Linked DNA regions of Homo sapiens: region 2 is linked to region 1. Evidence: promoter capture Hi-C in 16 types of primary human blood cells and fetal thymus (Javierre and others, 2016). All regions are on one chromosome and are shown on one strand. The core of a region is centred on a gene start or on the middle of the fragment in contact, and the rest is flanking DNA. Distances in the headings are between cores, read along the strand shown. Region 1 holds the start of HSPA9 (heat shock protein family A (Hsp70) member 9). Region 2 overlaps CDC23 (cell division cycle 23).

The links. The method cuts DNA at HindIII sites, captures the fragments that hold promoters and counts their contacts. A CHiCAGO score of 5 or more calls a contact.
Region 2: a fragment that was not itself captured here is called in contact with the fragment with the promoter of HSPA9 in region 1 in 1 of 17 cell types (neutrophils); the score reaches 5.5 in neutrophils.

What each region holds. Positions count from the first base shown.
Region 1 is chr5:138,572,686-138,578,817 of GRCh38, reverse strand. It overlaps HSPA9 (heat shock protein family A (Hsp70) member 9), which reads left to right and starts at 3,417. Exons shown (of 17, transcript NM_004134.7): 1 at 3,417-3,580; 2 at 4,692-4,750; 3 at 4,968-5,055. The coding sequence starts at 3,500. All of the region lies in intron 1 of LOC105379193 (a long non-coding RNA gene), which reads right to left. RefSeq lists enhancers at 2,823-2,962, 2,540-3,188, 3,103-3,382, 3,623-3,672, 3,189-3,836. The HindIII fragment of the contact is 10,827 bases long and covers 1-6,132 here.
Region 2 is chr5:138,204,081-138,210,212 of GRCh38, reverse strand. It overlaps CDC23 (cell division cycle 23), which reads left to right. Exons shown (of 16, transcript NM_004661.4): 3 at 3,529-3,666. Among named protein-coding and RNA genes, the nearest start is that of CDC23, 6.2 kb to the left of the region's middle. The HindIII fragment of the contact is 2,438 bases long and covers 1,077-3,514 here.

The sequences.
Region 1 (6,132 bases), core at 2,168-4,667:
GAAGAAAAGAAAAACTCTTAGGAGAACCAGTTAATACAACAGAGAAGTGAGAAGTATGCAGTTTCTCCAATTATTTCCACCTGCCCTTCTCCGCCCCGTCATGTACAACGTAAGAACATAATGTTTTTTATTGCATTTCAATGTTCAATATTATTTGTCACTCCTCTGTCTTCTTTGCATCGGTATATTGTTTTAGAATCTAAATCTCTACAAACAGGAATCATGAGCCTGTTTGGATAGCCTTTAAGAAAGCCTGCCTTCTCATTTTTCTTCCTTTCTCTCTCTTTTTTTTTTGGGGGGGGGGGGGGGCGGAGTCTGGCTCTGTCACCTGGAGTGCAGTGGTGCAATCTCCACTCACTGCAACCTCCGCCTCCTGGGTTCAGGCAATTCTCCTGCCTCAGCCTCCCGAGTAGCTGGGGTTACAGGTGCCCACTACCACGCCTGGTTAATTTTCGTATTTTTAGTAGAGACGAGGATTTCACCATGTTAGCCAGGCTGGTCTCGGACTCCTGACATCAGGTGATCCACCCGCCTCAGCATCCCAAAGTGCTGGGATTACAGGCGTGAGCCACCACGCCCGGCCGCATCTTTCTTTTCTCTCTTTCTCTTTCCTTCCTTTCCTTATTTCCTTTTCTCCTTCCTTCTTTCCCTCCTTCCCTCCCTCCTTCCTTCCTTTCTCCTTTCTTTCTGTTTTTTTGTTTTTTGTTTTTTTTAATGTCTCGCTGTGTCACCCAGACTGGAGTGAAATGGCACAATCATAATCACGACTCACTGCAGCCTCGACCTCTCTTGGCTCAGGTGATTCTTCCACCTCAGCCTCCCGAGTAGCTGGTAGCTGGGACTACAGGTGCACCACCATGCCCGGCTAATTTTTTGTAGAAATGGGGTTTTGCCATGTTGCCCAGGCTGTTCTCAAATTCCTGAACTCAAGTGATCCTCCCACTCCAGCCTCCCAAGTAGGTGGGACTACAGGTGCTTGCTACCATGCCCAGCCAATTTAAAAAAAAAAAAAAAAAAAATTGGCCGGCCGCAGTGGCTCACGCCTGTAATTCCAGCATTTGGGATGCCGAGGCGGGCGGATCCCTTGAGTTCAGGAGTTGGAGACCAGCCTGGGCAACAAGGCGAAACCCCGTCTCTACGAAAAATACAAAAATTAGCCAGGCGTAGTGCCGCATGTCTGTAATCCCAGCTACTCGGGGGAGGGGGGCGCTGAGGCGGCACTGGAATCATCTGAGCCCAGAGAGGTGGAGGCTGCAGTAAGCTGAGACTGCACCACTACACTGCAGCCTGGGCGACAGAGGCTAAAGATGGAGTCTCACTCTGTCGCTCAGGCTGATCTCGAACTCCTGGGTTCAAGTGATCCTCCCACCTCGGCCTCCCAAAGTGCTGGGATTACAGGCGTGAGCCACCGCCTGGCCACCCCTGCCTTCTGAGAGAACTAAAAACAAGAGAAATGAAGTGTTAAGTAACTAGTGAGGATAATATAGTAATAGCTGACAGTTAAGAGTGTGTGGGAGGCTTTTTAAAAACTTTTAGAATCTATATAATCTATAACCCATGTTACGTTAGACTTTTGTTTATTTTCTTACTCCCACTGCCATCCTCCTCAGAATGTAAACTCTTCAGTTAGCTTCTTTCCCTCCCCAACTTTCCCCAACATTTCCTTCACAGTTCCTCACCCAGGGGTGACTACTTAATAATACAGATCTTCCTGAAGAGATAGGGGGTCTGAAACATTTCTCTTTTTTTGAAAGCGGGCTTCCAGGACAAATTGCTTCATCTCCAAAATCAAGTTCAATCTGTCATCAGCCATTCGTTCGTGTTTTGCTTTCGCTGTATTCCTACCACCTGGGAGAGTGACTGACACACGGTAGGCATGCCAAAACATATCTGTTGAATCAATTAATTCCTCTTCTTAAAAATCTAAAACTGGGTTGGGCGCGGTGGCTCACGCCTGTAATCCCAGCACTTTGGGAGGCCGAGGCAGGCAGATCACGAGGTCAGGAGATCGAGACCATCCTGGCCAACATGGTGAAACCCGGTGTCTACCAAAAATATAAAAATTAGCTGGGCGTGGTGGCGCGCGCCTGTAATCCCATCTACTTGGGAGGCTGAGGCAGGAGAATAGCTTGAACCAGGGAGTCAGAGGTTGCAGTGAGCCGAGATGGCGCCACTGCACTCAAGCCTGGCGACAAAGACTGCCTCAAAAAAAAAAACAAAAACCTAAAAACTGGTCACAGGGTAGTGAAGTAGTTGACATCCTGCCACCAGCACAAGGTTTAAAAAGGGCCAGAGGAGTCTCAAGTCAGGCCCAGCACAGTGGGGAGAGGAAGAGCCTGAAGCTCAGCTATTTTTCTTTTTTTTCTTGAGACGGAGTCTCGCTCTGTCGCCCAGGCTGGAGTGCAGTGGCGCGATCTCGGCCCACTGCAAGCTCCGCCTCCCGGGTTCACGCCGTTCTCCTGCCTCAGCCTCCCGAGTAGCTGGGACTACAAGCGCCTGCCACCACGCCCGGCTACTTTTTCGTATTTTCAGTAGAGACGGGGTTTCACCGTGTTAGCCAGGATGGTCTCGATCTCCTAACCTCGCGATCCGCTCGCTTCGGCCTCCCAAAAGTGCTGGGATTACAGGCGTGAGCGCCCGGCCAAGCTCAGCTATTTTTTTTTCCCTTTGTGCAGGCTAATTGGCCTAATGTTCTGTGTGAATCAAACGCTTCGTAGTTGGAAACCCAAGACCCCTGTGATAAAACGCAACACGAAATTGTTTAACGTCTGTCTGCATATCCAAGTGTCTTTCAAGTTGTGAACAACGGGCGGGACCAAACAACAAAAGTACTGACGTCCTCACTTCACAAAGCCACAAGACAAGATGGCGCCGTCCTCCAGGAGCGGGAGCTGGGAACACGTCCACGCCCGGGGGGTGTGCACGCGCCCGGGCTCGCCCCAGGGAACGCTGGCGTGCACTCGGGCACCCAGTGAGCGCCGCAGTTAGTCTCCACCCATGTTTTCCGCCACTCCTTGCGCACATGCGCTCTAGGTTCTTAGCTGGATGTCTGTTGCGCCAACAGGCTCCTCCTCCCGCGCAACTGACGCAAGAAGACTGTAATCGGTTCGCAATTTATCCCGTGTGACCTTGAGTCTTTCCTGTCGCCGAGGACCGGGGCTGTCCGAGATACGGCCTTCATATCCCTCTTCCTCCCCTGGACTCTTTCTGAGCTCAGAGCCGCCGCAGCCGGGACAGGAGGGCAGGCTTTCTCCAACCATCATGCTGCGGAGCATATTACCTGTACGCCCTGGCTCCGGGAGCGGCAGTCGAGTATCCTCTGGTCAGGCGGCGCGGGCGGCGCCTCAGCGGAAGAGCGGGCCTCTGGGCCGCAGTGACCAACCCCCGCCCCTCACCCCACGTGGTTGGAGGTTTCCAGAAGCGCTGCCGCCACCGCATCGCGCAGCTCTTTGCCGTCGGAGCGCTTGTTTGCTGCCTCGTACTCCTCCATTTATCCGCCATGATAAGTGCCAGCCGAGCTGCAGCAGCCCGTCTCGTGGGCGCCGCAGCCTCCCGGGGCCCTACGGCCGCCCGCCACCAGGTGAGGAACTGGGACCTTCCCGAATGGGGTCACGGCCTCGGGCCTTGGGCCTCGGGCTTCGCTGCGGCAGGCCGCGCGCCCTTTAGGGTTTGAATTCTCCAGTATAGGTCAGGCGGGAAGGAAGGTAACGGGCCTTCCATAGTTAGCGCTGCCGGGTCAAGATTTTGCCCAAGGTTTTGCCTCCGGCTTGGGCCCTGCTGAGTCACACCCCTCGCGATCTAGAGTGTCATTTCAAAATTACCAGGTAGTGGTCCTCATGGCCTGTTCTGTGGCTGAATGGAAAGGTTTGGCCTTGGGGGTGAGGGATGCAGTCTATTGGGAAAGCCACTATTTTCAGTTTTATTTTTGGCTCCTCTACAGAATACAGAGTGTGTAAGGATCCCGTTGATACGGTGAAATAAAATAAGAAAGCTCTGAGTCGGAACTCCAGTTTTCGTGCTTAGCAACATTTTCTCAAAATCTGTGGTGTAAGATTGTACTCGTTTGTTACTTCAGAAAAAAAAGCAGATCGTGGGGCGGAGAAAAGGCTATGGAGTGGTTACTTGTTTTCTAAAATAAAAGACAAATGCTTTAGAGAACAGGAATTGTATGTGGGCATTAAGGAAGGCTTGGAAGGAGCCTGAGGTTAAGTTGTAATAAAGGTCTTTTATCCTAGTGAAACGCCACTACTTTTCTTTTTTCTTTCAAAGACCCTTAGTAACTCTAGTTCTTTTAAACTAATTGCACGGCAAGGTAAGGGGAAGTGTTTTCCCCCAGGGGACATCTGGCAATGTCTGTGGATATTTTAGGTTGTCACTTACTTACTGGGGTGCTTATTGGTTTCTAGGGTGTCGAGGCCAGGGATGCTGCTGTATATCCTACAATGCACAGAACAGCCCCCACCACAAAAATTTCGCCCAAAATTAATAGCGCCACGGTTGAGAAATCCTACTGTAATGTGATTCTAAGGCCATCTTTTATTTACCTTTTTTCGTCTTACTTATTTGGGAAACTTTAATATTTACTGTTTTAGTAGCTTAATGTATTTTATATACTAAGTGAGCCCAAGTTTTCTCTTTTTCCTCCCAGGATACACACTGGTTGGTGACTGAGTCAGTTTTTTCTTTTTTAGGATAGCTGGAATGGCCTTAGTCATGAGGCTTTTAGACTTGTTTCAAGGCGGGATTATGCGTAAGTATAATATCATTTCCTTTGAGAGGGAATACATATTAAACTTCAAAGCAGTGTTTTCTACATTTGTGATTATTCTTCTCTGTAATTATTTATCTGTATTTATTTAGAGATTATGTAGTATACCACTGTTAATTTTCCAATTAAATATTATCTTCCAGTGACTTTGGTCTATCAAGATAACAATAGCTGTGACACTGTTCTAAATGTCTTACAGATCAGAAGCAATCAAGGGAGCAGTTGTTGGTATTGATTTGGGTACTACCAACTCCTGCGTGGCAGTTATGGAAGGTAAACAAGCAAAGGTGAGCATGATTGATAACTAGTACCTTATCCAGAATCTGTCCAGAATTCTGTGCTCTTTTCCTTAGTTAAGGAATTTGAGAACCTGATTTGCGCTTTTTTTTTTTTTTTTTTTTTTTTTTTGGAGACAGTCTCTATAGCCCATGGTGGAGTGCAGTGGCACGGTCTCCGCTCACTGCAACCTCTGCCTCCTGGGTTCAAACAGTTCTCCTGCCTTGGCCACATAGCTGGGATTACAGGCATGAACCACCATTCCTGGCTAATTTTTTGTATTTTCAGTAGAGACAGTTCCACTGTGTTGGCCAGGCTGGTCTTGAGCTCAAGTGATCCGCCCACGTTGGCCTCCAAAGTGCTGGGATTACAGATGTGAACCACTAAGCCTGGCCTCGAAGTACTTCCAACTAAAACAGCAAAAACATAACTATAGATCAGGGCTGACCGGGCATAATGGCTCACGCCTGCAGTCCCAGCACTTTGGGAGGCCAAGGGGGGTGGATTACCTGAGGTCCCAAGTTCAAGACCAGCCCGGCCAAAATGGTGAAACCCCGTCTCTACTAAAAATGCAAAAAATTGGCCGGGTACAGTGGCTCACACCTGAAATCCTAGCACTTTGGGAGGCCAAGGCGGGTGGATCACAAGGTCAAGAGATCGAGACCATTCTGGCCAACATGGTGAAACCTGTCTCTACTAAAAATACAAAAATTAGCTGGGCGTAGTGGCACACACCTGTAGTCCCCGCTACTCGGGAGGCTGAGGCAGGAGAATCGCTTGAACCCAGGAGGTGGAGGTTGCAGTGAGCCAAGATCACATCACTGTACTCCAGCCTGGGTGACAGAGCGAGACTTTGTCTCAAAAAAAAAAAAAGAAGAGACTATAGATCAGGTTTTTCATACCCAATGTTGGGACAAGAATCTTTACTTCCACATGGAGAATTATATCTACTTCTAAGTTTTTTGGGGGGTTGGCCACAGATATCAGGCATATAGGAAAAATGCCAAGAAGCCCAAATTAGGGCCAAGAGAAGGAATAATCTCTTGGTGCCAAACAAGTGGGATAAGAAGACCATAGACAGTTCAGGT
Region 2 (6,132 bases), core at 1,046-3,545, 370 kb after region 1:
ACGGAGTCTTGCACTGTTACCCAGGCTGGAGTGCAGTGGCTCAATCTCGGCTCACCGCAACCTCCACCTCCCAGGTTCAAGCAATTCTCCTGTCCCAGCCTCCTGAGTAGCTGGGATTACAGGTGCATGCCACAACACCTGGCTAATTTTTTTGTATTTTTAGTAGAGAGGAGGTTTCACCATGTTGGCCAGGCTGGTCTCGAACTCCTGACCTCAAGTGATCCACCCCTCTCAGCCTCCCAAAGTGCTGTGCTGGGATTACATGCATGATTCACTGCTCTCAGCCATAACTGTGATATTTAAAGTTATTAAAATGCAAGAGTATTATGCTTGCTCAATCTACGTAGTAGATGTTTGTTATAGCTTACTCTCAATTTTTTTTTTTTTTTGAGACGGAGTTTTGCTGTATTACCCAGGCTAGGGTGCAATGGCCCAATATCGGCTCACTGCAACCTCTGGCTCCTGGGTTTCAGTGATTCTCCTGCCTCAGCCTCCCGAATAGCCGGGATTACCGAATGTGCCACCACGCCTGGCTAATTTTTGTATTTTTAACAGAGACGAGGTTTCACCATGTTGGCCAGGCTGGCCTCAAACTGCTGACCTTAGGTGATCCACCCACCTCAGCCTCCCAAAGTGCTAGGATTACAGGTGTGAGCCACCACACCCGGCTTGCTTACTCTCAGTGTTTTATAAACATTACCAAAGAAGCATGTCATATAAGGCCTTAAACTCGTTATCCTTTGTCTTGGACTTAAAGCTTTTCTTTTCTTTTCTTTTCTTTTTTTTTTTTTGAGTCTCACTCTGTTGCCCAGGCTGGAGTGCAATGGCATGATCTCCACTTACTGCAACCTCCACCTCCCAGGTTCAAGTGATTCTCCTTCCTCAGCCTCCCAAGTAGCTGGGATTACAGGTGCTCACCACCACACCTGGCTAATTTTTTGTATTTTTAGTAGAGATGGGGTTTCACCATGTTGGCTAGGCTGGTCTTGAACTCTTGACCTCAGGTGATCCACCTGTCTTAGCCTCCCAAAGTGCTGGGATTACAGGCATGAGCCACCACACCTGGCCCTGAAGCTTAGCTTTTCTGAATATAAGATGTGACTAGGACCAATTGTGGCTTCTTGGTTTAAAAACTCAACCTGGCTGAGCATGGTGGCCCATGCCTGTAATCCCAGCACTTTGGGAGGACTGCTTGAGGCCGGGAGTTCCAGACCAGCCTAAGCAACATAGTGAAACTATATCTGTACTAGAAATACATGGTGGTGCGGTGGCACGCACCTGTGGACCCAGTGACTTCAGAGGCTGAGGTGGGAGGAGGATCACTTGAGCCCAGGAGGCTGAGGTTGGAGTGATTTGAGATTGCGCCACTACACTGCAGCCCAGGAGACAGAGTGAGATCCTGTCTCAAAACGAAACAAAACTCAGCCAAATGCTAAATGCCTCTAAATTACATGTAATTTTCAGTAGAACATTCCAGATTCTTCCCATAAGCAAGAATGAAACAGAAAAATTTAAGATTATATAATCCAAATAGTAAAACTTTCTGAATTATAAGGATATATCGACTGTTACGAATATATTTTATGCTGGGCCTATAGTATGCATGTATACATAGTCTTGTATAATCTGAATGCTTTTCATTATAATCCATTTTGTTTTCCTGATGATGCCTTTCTTGATTTTTTTGTCCCATTCAGCAATAACAAGTATTTCTTACTCAAAAAGGCATAATGCAGGTGAAAGAGTTAGGGGGAAAGAAATAAACAAGTGGTGAGTTGATATGAGAAGGGCCTCCAGAATCCTAAATCAAATGGTCGTATTTAGGACATGTTGATCTAATGAAGAAAGCACTGAATATGTTTTGGTTCCAGTTTTGTTCTGGTGATATTTGGGGCAAGAAAGATGAGGAAAATACAGTTATTCAAATTTTAATTAACTCATCCTTAGAATTTGGAGGATTGGGCCGGTGGTGGCTCGTGCCTGTAATCCCAGCACTCTGCTGTGAGTTCAAGGCGGGTGGATCGCTTGAGGTCAGGAGTTCAAGACCAGCCTGGTGAAACTCCGTCTCTACTAAAATACAAAAATTAGCCAGGCATGGTGGCGGGCACCTGTAATCCCAGCTGCTAGGGAGGCCGAGGCAGGAGAATTGCTTGAACCTAGAAGGTGGAGGTTACAGTCAGCCAATATCACACCACTGCATTCCATCCTAGGCGACAGAGCGAGGCTCTGTCTCAAAAAAAAAAAAGAATTTGGGGGATTGAATTTTTGTTTTTTGTTTTTTTTTTGAGACAGAGTCTTGCTACGTCACCAGATTGAAGTGATGTGGCGCGATCTTGGCTCACTGCAGCAAGGCTCAGCCTCCCGAGTAGCTGGGACCCCCGGCACATAGTACCATGCCCAACTATTTTTTTGTATTTTTAGTAGAGGCAGGGTCTTGCCACGTTGCCCAGGCCGGTCCTGAACTCCTGAGTTCAAGCCATCCTCTTGCCCTGGTCTCCCACAGTGCTGGGATTACAGCCACTGCGCTCAGCCAAGGATTGTATGTTTTTAACTTAAATGTGACATTATCTAATTTTTTTTTAACATAGAGAATTACAGCTGTGTTCTGTGCCTTCAGCAATACTAAATTATGACAAAACTTTATTGAAGTACAAAAAATATAAGTAATTGCACGTACATTGCATTTATGTAGGACTGTAAAAGACAGGAGAAGGAATAGAATGCCAGTATTAATGCTGGATATTTTATGTGACTCACATTTTCCTCAAGTCAAATCTGTAAGGTCAGTATTATTGGCTTCATTTTACAGATGAAGAAATGGATGCTAAGAGAAGCTAAGTAACCTCCCTACCAATGTCCTGAAACCAGGAAATCAAAAAGTCAGAATTTGAATCTAGGTCCTTAACACTAAAGCCTATTCAACTTTCTACTACATTTATAGAAACAATACACATTTATGAGTGTTCGTTTAGTTTTTTAAAGTTTTCTTTTTTCTCCATTTTTTTATTTTGAAAAAATTAGAAAGAAAAACTTGGCCGGGTGCGGTCGCTCATACCTGTAATTCCAGCACTTTGGGAAGCCGAGGCAGGCAGATCACTTGAGGCCCTGAGTTTGAGACCAGCCTGGCCAACATGGCGAAACCCCATCACTACTAAAAATACAAAAATTAGCTGGAAGTGGTGGCGCACACCTGTAATCCCAGCTACTCTGGCAGCTGAGGCACAATAATCGCTTGAACCTGGGAGGCAGAGGTTGCAGTGAGCTGAGATTGCGCCACTGCACTCCAGCCTGGGTGACAGAGTGAGGCTCTGTCTCAAAAAAAAAAAAAAAAAAAGAGTTCTATGGGCTTACTTGGTAATAAAATAAATATATAAAATTATATATATATGCATCTACATATTCTAGGTTTTTAGGAGGAAGAAAACAATCCTTTTTCTTTTACATCTTGAAATTAACGAATATACTTTTTAGATTTGAAGTTTTGTTGTCCTATTCCCAACCACTTACATAAGCTTGTTTCTTTTTTAGGAAGATGCCCAGGATATGGATGCCTATACCCTGGCCAAGGCCTACTTTGACGTTAAAGAGTATGATCGGGCAGCACATTTCCTGCATGGCTGCAATAGCAAGAAAGCCTATTTTCTGTATATGTATTCCAGATATCTGGTGAGGGCCATTTTAAAATGTCATTCTGCCTTTAGTGAAACATCCATATTTAGAACCAATGGAAAAGTTAAATCTTTTAAATAGCTTAGCAGTGGGCCACTGAATGAATGTACTTTATACATAGCAATAATAAAAAAAAGATATCATAAATAAAGTTAAAAAGGATGGTAGAGAAGAAAATATTCTTAGGAATGACTAACAGGATAAGTAACAACCTGATTATTTATTTACTTTAGGTTATATAAGGTTCTTCATGCCTGTGAATTAATATTATTGTGTAAGAATTAAGTTAAAAAGCCTGGGCTGACTTTTAAATTTATAAATTCATTTATCATGTTTATAGTATATTTATTGTTTTTCTTTCATGGCTATTAAAAAGTATGACTGTAAAGGACAATGCAAGTAAACCAACTTAATACTGTATTGAATAATAAGTACAATTTATTATTTTACTTTGAAACATTATGAATTTACTTTCCTACTTTTTCTTAGTTGTTATCTATATAAATTGATTAAAAAAACATTTTATGTACTTCTCATTTCCTAGTACAGGTTGAGTATCCCTTATTTGAAGTGCTTGGGACCAAAAGTGTTTCAGATTTCAGATTTTTTTCAGATTTTGGTATATTTGCATTATACTTACTGGTTGAAATAAAAAATGCTGCAGTGAGTGTCATTGGTGCTTTGAGTGTCATTGGTGCTGAAAAAGTTTTGGGTTTTGGAGCAATGCAGATTTCAGATCTTATGATTTAGGTTGATCAACTATTAGCATAGCTTGTATTTGTCAAGCGTGGTAAATTCTTGCAGTTATGGACTATGTTTAAGTCATCTTTGTTTTTTTTTTTTTTTTCCAATTTACCATTTTAACATTTTTAAAGTGTACAGTTCAGTGGTATTAAATGCATTCATAATGTGCAACCATCACCACCACCCATCTCTAGAACATTTTTTATCTTGTAAAACTAAAATTCTATACCCATTAAACAATAACTCTCCATTTTTCCCTTTCCCCAAGGTGGACCCCTTGGCAACCACTATTCTATTTTCTGTTTCTATGATCTGGACTACTCTAAGTACCTTACATAAGTGGAATCATGCAGTATTAGTCTCTTTGTGACTGGCTTATTTCACTTACCATAATGCTGTCAAGTTTCATCCATGTTGTAGCATATATAAGAATTTCCTTTTTTAAAGTTTAATAATATTCCATTGTATTTATATACCACAGTTTGCTTATCTCCATGAGTTTAAGAAAGATATTTTGAAATTATGGGATTTAAAAAGTTAATCTTTCACATACAATCTATACCTGTGTAGAAGCACTAATTTGGATGAGTTATGGTAGAATAGAACCAGCATTTGCTGAAGTTTGGGATAAAATAAAGTTCCTTAAGGCAAATATATAAAATATAAAAGGAAGCCCGGGCGGCATGGTGAAACCCCGTCTCTACAAAAAATACAATAATTAGCCAGGTGTGGTGGTGTGTGCCTGTGGCCCCAGCTACTTGGGAGGCTGAGATAGGAGGATCGCTTGAGCCCAGGTGGTGGAGGTTACAGTGAGCCAAGATTGTACCACTATACTCCAGCCTGGGCAACAGAGCAAGACCCTGTCACCAAAAAAAAAAAGAAAGAAAGAAAAAGTCCGGGCGCGGTAGCTCACGCCTGTAATCCCAGCACTTTGGGAGGCAGAGGCGGGCGGATCACGAGGTCAGGAGATCAAGACCACGGTGAAACCCCGTCTCTACTAAAAATACAAAAAATTAGCTGGGCGCAGTGGCGAGCGCCTGTAGTCCCAGCTACTCGGGAGGCTGAGGCAGGAGAATGGCGTGAACCCGGAAGGTGGAGCTTGCAGTGAGCCGAGATCATACCACTATACTCCAGCCTGGGCGGCAGAGTGAGACTCCGTCTCCAAAAAAAGAAAAAAGAGAGTCTGAATGTTTACTTTGCTTTTTAACCTTTTATTTGAAAATGATTCCAAATTGACAAGTTGCGAGAATAAGAATAGTACAAAGAATACTTATGTACTTTTTTTTTTTTTTTTTGAAATGGAGTCTTTCTCTGTCACCCAGGCTGGAGTGCAGTGGTGCGATCTCAACTCACTGCAACCTCTGCCTCCCGGGTTCAAGCCTTTCTCTTACCTCAGCCTCCCAAGTAGCTGGGACTACAGGTGCATGCCAGCATGTCCAGTTAATTTTTGTAATTTTAGTAGAGATGGGGTTTCATCATATTGGTCAGGCTGGTCTCGAACTCCTGACCTCAGGTGATCCACCTGCCTTGGCCTCCCAAAGTGCTGGGATTACAGGCGTGAGCCACTGTGCCTGGCACTTCTGTACTCTTTATAGTTTTGCCTATTGTGAACATTAATCCTATTTGCTTTATCATTTCTCTCTACTTTATCTCTACACAACGTGTGCATACACATGGAATTGTTTTACTCTGAACCATTTGAGAATAAGTTGCAGATAT